Linked DNA regions of Homo sapiens: region 1 is linked to region 2. Evidence: promoter capture Hi-C in 16 types of primary human blood cells and fetal thymus (Javierre and others, 2016). All regions are on one chromosome and are shown on one strand. The core of a region is centred on a gene start or on the middle of the fragment in contact, and the rest is flanking DNA. Distances in the headings are between cores, read along the strand shown.

What was found. Contacts are between HindIII fragments. The CHiCAGO score rates a contact against its expected background, and 5 or more counts as called.
Region 1: a contact is called between a fragment that was not itself captured here and the fragment with the promoter of TBX2 in region 2, in 2 of 17 cell types (megakaryocytes and total CD4 T cells). The highest score is 6.1, in megakaryocytes.

The regions. Positions count from the first base shown.
Region 1 is chr17:61,070,602-61,074,234 of GRCh38, reverse strand. All of the region lies in intron 19 of BCAS3 (BCAS3 microtubule associated cell migration factor), which reads right to left. It overlaps BCAS3-AS1 (BCAS3 antisense RNA 1), which reads left to right. Exons shown (of 6, transcript NR_186507.1): 3 at 3,353-3,395. Among named protein-coding and RNA genes, the nearest start is that of BCAS3-AS1, 64 kb to the left of the region's middle. The HindIII fragment of the contact is 1,495 bases long and covers 855-2,349 here.
Region 2 is chr17:61,398,461-61,401,859 of GRCh38, reverse strand. TBX2 (T-box transcription factor 2) reads right to left here and starts at 2,017. Exons shown (of 7, transcript NM_005994.4): 1 at 1,289-2,017; 2 at 1-176. The coding sequence starts at 1,683. TBX2-AS1 (TBX2 antisense RNA 1) reads left to right here and starts at 2,254. Exons shown (of 2, transcript NR_125751.1): 1 at 2,254-2,621. RefSeq lists a cis regulatory region at 1,933-1,944 and promoters at 1,933-2,180, 1,800-3,060. The HindIII fragment of the contact is 11,976 bases long and covers 1-3,399 here.

The DNA.
Region 1 (3,633 bases), core at 353-2,852, 330 kb after region 2:
TTTTTTTTTTTAACAGCAGTTTTAGGTTCACAGCAAAGTTGAGCTAAAGATACGGATATTTCCCATATAACCCCCCAACCTCATACATGATTGTATTTAATCTTTTTTTTTTTTTTTTTTTCTTAAGAGATAGGATCTTGCTGTGTTACACATGCTGGATTACAGTGGCATGATCATAGCTCACTGTAACCTCAAACTTCTGGGCTCAAACCATCTTCTCACCTCAGTCTAATAAGTAGCTGAGACTACAGGCATGAGCTACCAATGCCTGCCCAATATTTTCTTCCTTGTAGAGACAGGATCTCACAATGTTGACCAGGCTGGTGTCAAACTCCTGGCCTCAAGTGATCCTCTGGCTTTGGCTCTCAGAGTGCTGGGATTACAGGCATGAACCACCACGCCTGGCCTACCATTTTAATACTCAGAGAAATCAAGCAATGAAGTACTGGGAGGAACAGAGAAAAAGAGGGGAGGTAAGTAGAAAGAAAAGTAAGAAAGTAAGAGATGATCATTAAAGAAGTGTGGAAGAAATAGAAAAGAATGAGAAGCTGAAAACCCTCATAATTTCTACCACCAAAAGACATTTATATATACACATCAACATACAAAAATTTCCTTGAGTTAGATTCCTACATATGAAATCAGAGGATGTAAATATATAAATTTCTTAATATATGTTCCCAGAAAGAGTTATACACTTACCCAAGCAGTGAAAGAGAATGCCAACCTCACTGAGCTCTTGCTAGAACAAGGTAGTATTTTGAAAAACTGTATCTTAGTGAAACAGATACAAATAAAGTAGACAAAGCATAACCTAGGGCAAGATTTTAAAAGACACAGACTCACAAAAAGCTTATCTTAACTTGCTGCAAGAGGAGAAATGCTAATTCAGTGAATTACTCAGCAGAGGCATACACAGTATTAAAGTGTAAGATCTGCAGTAATCAAAACTTTTAGCTGCTAGTTCTTCAAAATCATAGTTCTACAGCCAAGCGGCATGGTGGCATTTGTACAAAACACAAATGATCACAAAAGCATACACCTACATTCTTGTGATGACAAATTATATCAAGAAGAAAAGAATATCACAATAACTATTATTTCAGCATTCTTTTGGAAATAATTGATATACATTGAAAGGCTGATAAGTAATGATATTTTCAAAAGGCTAAGTTATCTTCCCACCACTAAATTCTATATTAATTCTTAATACAGAAGAGAACAAGAGGATCCTTGAAATTCCCACCCCTTAAATACTAGTGAAAAATGTGAATATGGAAAATATGTAGAGGCTGGAAAGCAGATGAGGGCAGAGAAGATTTTAAAGAGGTGAGGTAATATGTTATGCAAATATCTGAAGGAGAGGTGTGACCAAGGGAATGTTAAGTACAAAGATTTTGAGATGTAAACATAAAGGGAATAAGTAACAGCTAGGAGGCCACTGTGGTTGGGTGGGATAAGCCATGTTGTGAGTGGAAGGTTAAGTCAGTAAGGCAAAGGAAGTAGGACCAGCAGATTACTGTGGGCTTTTCCTTTCTTCTTTTTTTTTTTTTTTTTTGGTAATAAAGCTCGAGTAATATGATGGAAAGCAATTAGCAATTTTTAAGTAGAAGTGAGTAACCATGCCTTACGTAACTAGCTAGTACCTAATGTGAATTTCTCCAAAAGTTTATGTTGTGTTTTATATATGCTGAGCCTAGACTAGTACGTGTCACAGAACAAGTACTCAATAAGTATTTACTGGGTGGTTGGAGTTTTGGATTCTGTACTAAGTAAGTAACGGCACTAGAATGGCTGGACACTTATTTATCCATCATCAAAATAGGGATAATATATTATAATGTCTGGGATTAGCTTCAAAATAACCCAGTGCAGGGATGAAGGTGGGAGGTAGAATTACAGATGAAAACAGGATTGGTCATTAGTTGATCATTGTTATAGCTGGCTGATAGGTACATGGAGGCTCACTATACTATTATTTTCTAGTTTTGTGTATGTTTGGAATTTTCCACAGTGAGAAGGGAGAAAGATCCTCTCTGCCCTCATTAACTTTCCAAAGGAAGTAATAAAGATTCCAAATATACATCTAGAAATAGTACCATAAATATGCACCCCAAAATCCTAAAGAGATTATAAGAATTTCCATCCCCTTTTTTCACCAAAAATAGTTTTCTAATTAAGCATACTTGGAAGCCATCAGAAGATGGGCAATATAAAAAATAAATCTGGTGGGATAATATTTTTCATTATCAAATAAATATCCTTCCTCTGCCTCACCATTTTTTCCATGTTTGATACATTTTTATTACTAAATTGGGTAAAAGCACAAACATCAAAACAGGAAAAGCTTATAATTAGAAGCTAACTATAATCCAAATAATTTTGAAAAGTCTGAAAGAAGAGTGCAATAAGAGAACATATTTTTTTCACAATAAATTAATCATTAATTGGCACTGTGGTGTTAAACATACAACTAGATATATTACTGTTCATAATAATTGGTAATGTAATATATTTATTAAAATCTGTTGGTCTTCCTATTATATTTAGTATTGGATTCTCTATACAGTTTTAGGAATTACAATATGTAGTATGGAATACCTTAGAACAGTCCCAACAGTATACCACCAAGCCAGAACGCTGTTCCTCCAAATGTGGTCCTCAGACCATTAACATTGACATCCCTCGCAGAGCTTGTTAGAAATAAATAACTTCAGGCTCCACCCACCCAGCCCTACTGAATTACAATCTGCATTTCAACAAGATCCCTAGGTGATTTTATTACACATTAAAATTTGAGAGCTGCATTATACAGGAGTAGACTCACTGCCATTCCTCTAAAATAGATCAGTAGTAAAAGTTTGGAGAATCTACATTATTCTTTAAAAGGAAAAAATATGAAAAACTGGTTTTCATTTGAGAGCTTAGGAGGAAAATAATTAGTTACTTATTGCCATTTCTAAAATCTAGACAAGAAAATTCTGAAATAAGCATGGTTATTATGAGATTAAGTTAGCTATAAATTATTAGGAAATTTAAAATAGAAAGGTACTATCATTTTCATAGGATTTACTTTTTTTGTCCACTTGTTATCCTTCTAAATTCTTCACTATAACCTCAAATTTCAGTATAAATGGCCATTATAGCAGAAGAGCCAGGCTCTGTTTTCCATGGCTGATGTTGGGGGACATATCAAGCCAGTATATGCATAAGTTAAAGGGACAGATCTAAAATGTTCAGCTTACCAGTATTTAATACTTTTCTTAGTTTTTGTTGTAGTTGTTGTTGTTGTTGTTTTAGTCAAAGGTGGTTAAGTGTTTGGAAATGACCTTAGGTGGCTTCTGTTTTACAGATATGACCTGCCAGCGTCACACAACTTTCATACAAAGAAATCAGTAAGTCTCTTGATTTTAGTCAGTCTACATATAGTATTGAAAAGCTTTGTGACAAGTAATTCTTTCTAATGTTACCAGGCTGCCTGTGTAAATACAGAAGGCCAGCCTAGGAGACAGGATAAATTATCTGTGGGAAGGGCCCATAATCAATAGCCAACATTCTAGTTTAAAATTCATTCTCAAATGCTTTGGGCACAAAAAGGTAAAAATAAACTAAGTTTTTGCTCTTTTTATATAG
Region 2 (3,399 bases), core at 768-3,267:
CTGGGTGGATGTACATGCGTTTGGGCATCTCAGGGTCGGCCTTGCCCGCCACCATCCAGCGCGAGTTGTGGAACTTATAGCGGCAATCGTCAGCGGCTACAATGTCCATCAGCAGGATATACTTGGCCTTCTTGTCCAGGCCGCTGACTCGCACCTTGAAGGGGGGGAACATCCGCCTGGGAGGGAGGGAAGGGAGGAGATCCCATTGGAACCGGCTGTTCTAGGTTCCAGGACCCCACTCCTCCTTTATTTATCCCTCCTCGTTGCGCACACCGCTGCCGCCTGGCTGTTTCCCCTGTGGTCGGCTGCTCTGCCCTCTCATCACTGCCCGGACGACCCCACCTGTGGTTGTTGCTCCCAGGAGATCCCATTTCTGCCTGTCAGACCCTCTCCTAAACAGCCTCCTTTAGGCCTTGTGCTCAGATCTGGGGACCCTCTTTCTCCCTGATCTGAGATGAAAGCTGATGCCCAGGAGAGAAGTCTAGGCCCTCTAGAAATATTCTCGCTTCTCCTTAATCTCCCCGAAATTCGTTCAGGGGAAATACCCACTTGGGACGGAAGCTCCCAGAAATAAATCTGGAGGGTGTTTGTATTGGGAACTGGGCTACAGAGCCTGATAAGACATCCTGGCCGTGCAGTTCGGGGGAAGAGGGTGAACCCGAGGCCTGGATTCTCGGTGGCTGAGTCGAAGGGTGGAGGGGCCGGGGCTGTGGCTTTCTTCAGGCTTTAAGGCCTGGGGCGGCGGATGCGTCCAGGGCTCGGATGCCCGCGGTGGAGAAAGGGCTCCCAGCCCGGTGAGGCGGAGGGCTCGGCTGACCCGGGGCTCGCTGCCAGGAACCGAGCAACCAGCGTGGGGTTAGCTGGGCCCAGGTCCCACTAGGGGCTTCGGGGTCGGAGCAGAGTCTGAGAGAGGCTGAATTTCCCCCGAGCTCGGAGACGGACCCGGACGCAGAAGAGCGAGAGCGCGGGGCGGAGGAGACCGCCAGGGCCAAGCCGCGGGGCCTCCTCTGCGCTGGGACTCAGAACGGTTGGGGCTATTCTTTAGCAGTATGTTTTCGTTTTATTTCATTCGGAGGATTTTAGCGTTTTTGTTTTAAAAAAAAATCGCTCCGGTGCCAAACGAGAAAAGTCAACTTGGTTGTCCGTGGGAGCGAAGCGTGGCGTCAGGGCCAGAACCTGGAGCCGGGAGCCGGGAGCCGGGAGTCCCCAGCTCTGCTCTGATCCGTGCAGTCCCGTGCCCCAGCCCGCCCGCCCGCCCGCGCGCCTTCCAGCCGGCCGGCAGCCCTACCTCCCGGACTTGGTGATGACCATCTCCGTGCCTAGCTTGTGGAACTGGTCCCACAGCTCCTTGGCCTCCAGCGTCACCTTGGGGTCGTCCTCCACCTCGTCCTCGGGCTCCAGGCTCTTGAGGGAGCGCAGATGCGCGGCGGGCGGGTGCGGGCCCAGTGCCGAGACGTGCAGCCCCGCCTCGGCCGCTGCTGCCGCCGCCGCCGCCGCGGCCGCCGCCCCCGCCAGGCCCGGGTCGGGCAGCGGCTTGGCCAGCGCGCCGGGCGGCAGCGCGAGTGCCGGGAAGAAGGAGGGCTGCGCCGCCGCCAGAAAGGCGGACATGGGGAAGTCGGCGGGCCGTGGCGCGTGGAACGGGTGGTAAGCCATGGCGCTGGCCGCCAGCGCCGGCTCTCTCATCGGGACATCCGGCCCAGGCGCCCGGGGGCCGGGGCCGGGGCCGGGGGCGCGCGGCTCGGACCCCCGGCCCGGGCGGCGGCGCGCGCGGTGGACGGACGACCCGGGTGGCGGGCGCAGCAGCTGCTCCTCGGGGCTTCCCGTCCGGCGCACCGCAAGGGGCACCCGGCTCTGTGCGCGGGGGCGGCGGGGGCTCTGCGCGGGGCCGGGCTGGGCCGGGCTGAGCTGGCCCGCTCCGGCGCCGGGGACCACGCGCGACTGGTTAGATCTTGTCGTGATCTCTGGAAAACTGTGACTATCTCACATGTCCTGCCCAGCTCGGATCCCCTGCGCTAACGAGCCAGGCCCCCCTTGATTGCTGATTTTACGCTTTTTGGACCAATTGTGGGTCTCCGGGGGCGGGGTTTTGACAGCTCAGGCCAAGCTCCGGCCGGGAGGGGGGGCCTGGGAGAAGGTGTCGGAAGCCTCAGCAGTAAGAAAACATGTCAACAGAATAAAATATTAACCAATGACGGGCCGCCGGGCCCCGAGACCCCTCCTCCTGCCCCGGCCCCCACCGCCCGCCCGCGCCTGCGGCTGCCTGCGCCGGACTGGAGAGCGCGGAGGGCCGACCTGACCCGCCGAAAGGGCCTGAGGCGAGGGGAGCCCGGGTCCCGGGGCCTTGGGGAAGGACCCGCAGCCGCACGCCGGCCCCAAGTGCAAAGCATTGACACGACCCCGAGCGGAGAGGGGGCGCCCTCCTTCTCCCGCGCCCAGAGGCCCGGCCGCTCTGGCCCGAGCCCCAGCCTGGCCTCCGACCCAGCTCCGGGTCGTGGCGCCGCCTGGGGGTCCCTGCGCCCCGGAAAGAGACAGCAGGCACTGGAAAGCGAGGCCGGTGGGCGGGCGAGTCGGGAGGCTCGGGCGGCCGAGGTCCGGGAGCGGATCCCAGGTGGCGGGAGCTGGTGAGTGGAGCCATGGCCGAGCCCTGCTGGGGCCGGCGCGGGCGGGAGCGGGACGCGGCCTTGCGCTGGGGAAACGCGGGGACCCCCTACCCGCGCCCGCCTTCACCGGAAGACTCGGAAGGAACCTGGAGTTCTCCGCAGGCCCGGGCCCCGCCCTGAGCTTTCCAGCGGCCGGGAGGAGCGGATCCTCGGGGCCAGGAAGGTGAGCGCACCTTTCGCTGAGCACAGGGCGGCACCGCGCGGGCGGACCCCGGATTCTCCACCCGCGACCCAACGAATTTTCGCCCTATCCGGTACCGGAGACGAAAGTCTCCTTCTTCCGAAATACCGGCTTCCTCTCTTCGCCCTGCCAACCACTTTTTTAGTTTCTTCTCATCTCTCGGAAGCGCACGTCTCCTAAGTTAAGGAGTGCTGAGTAACGCGTGAGGGAGTTGGGGTGTCTGCGAGCACCTGTGATTGAAGCCCCCTCTTCTGTGATCAGTCTTCGTTTTCTGTCTTCCGGCAGCCTCAGTTTCCCCCCCATGAAGTGATGGTGTGTGTGTGTGTGTGTGTGTGTGTGTGTGTGTGTGTGTGTGTGTCGGGCCCCGTGTGGTGCCCTCTGTGCGCAGCGAGAGCTATAACTCAAGGTGTGCACGGGGAGAGTGAAGCGACCACGCACCTGCTTCCAATCGGGCTCGGGCGCGAACACTCAGGCTGATTCCTGAAGGTCGTTTTCTGAAGGAAAAGACAGAGCATGCACTAGCCACGGGTGACATTCCCACCCGTACAACCGCGTGGT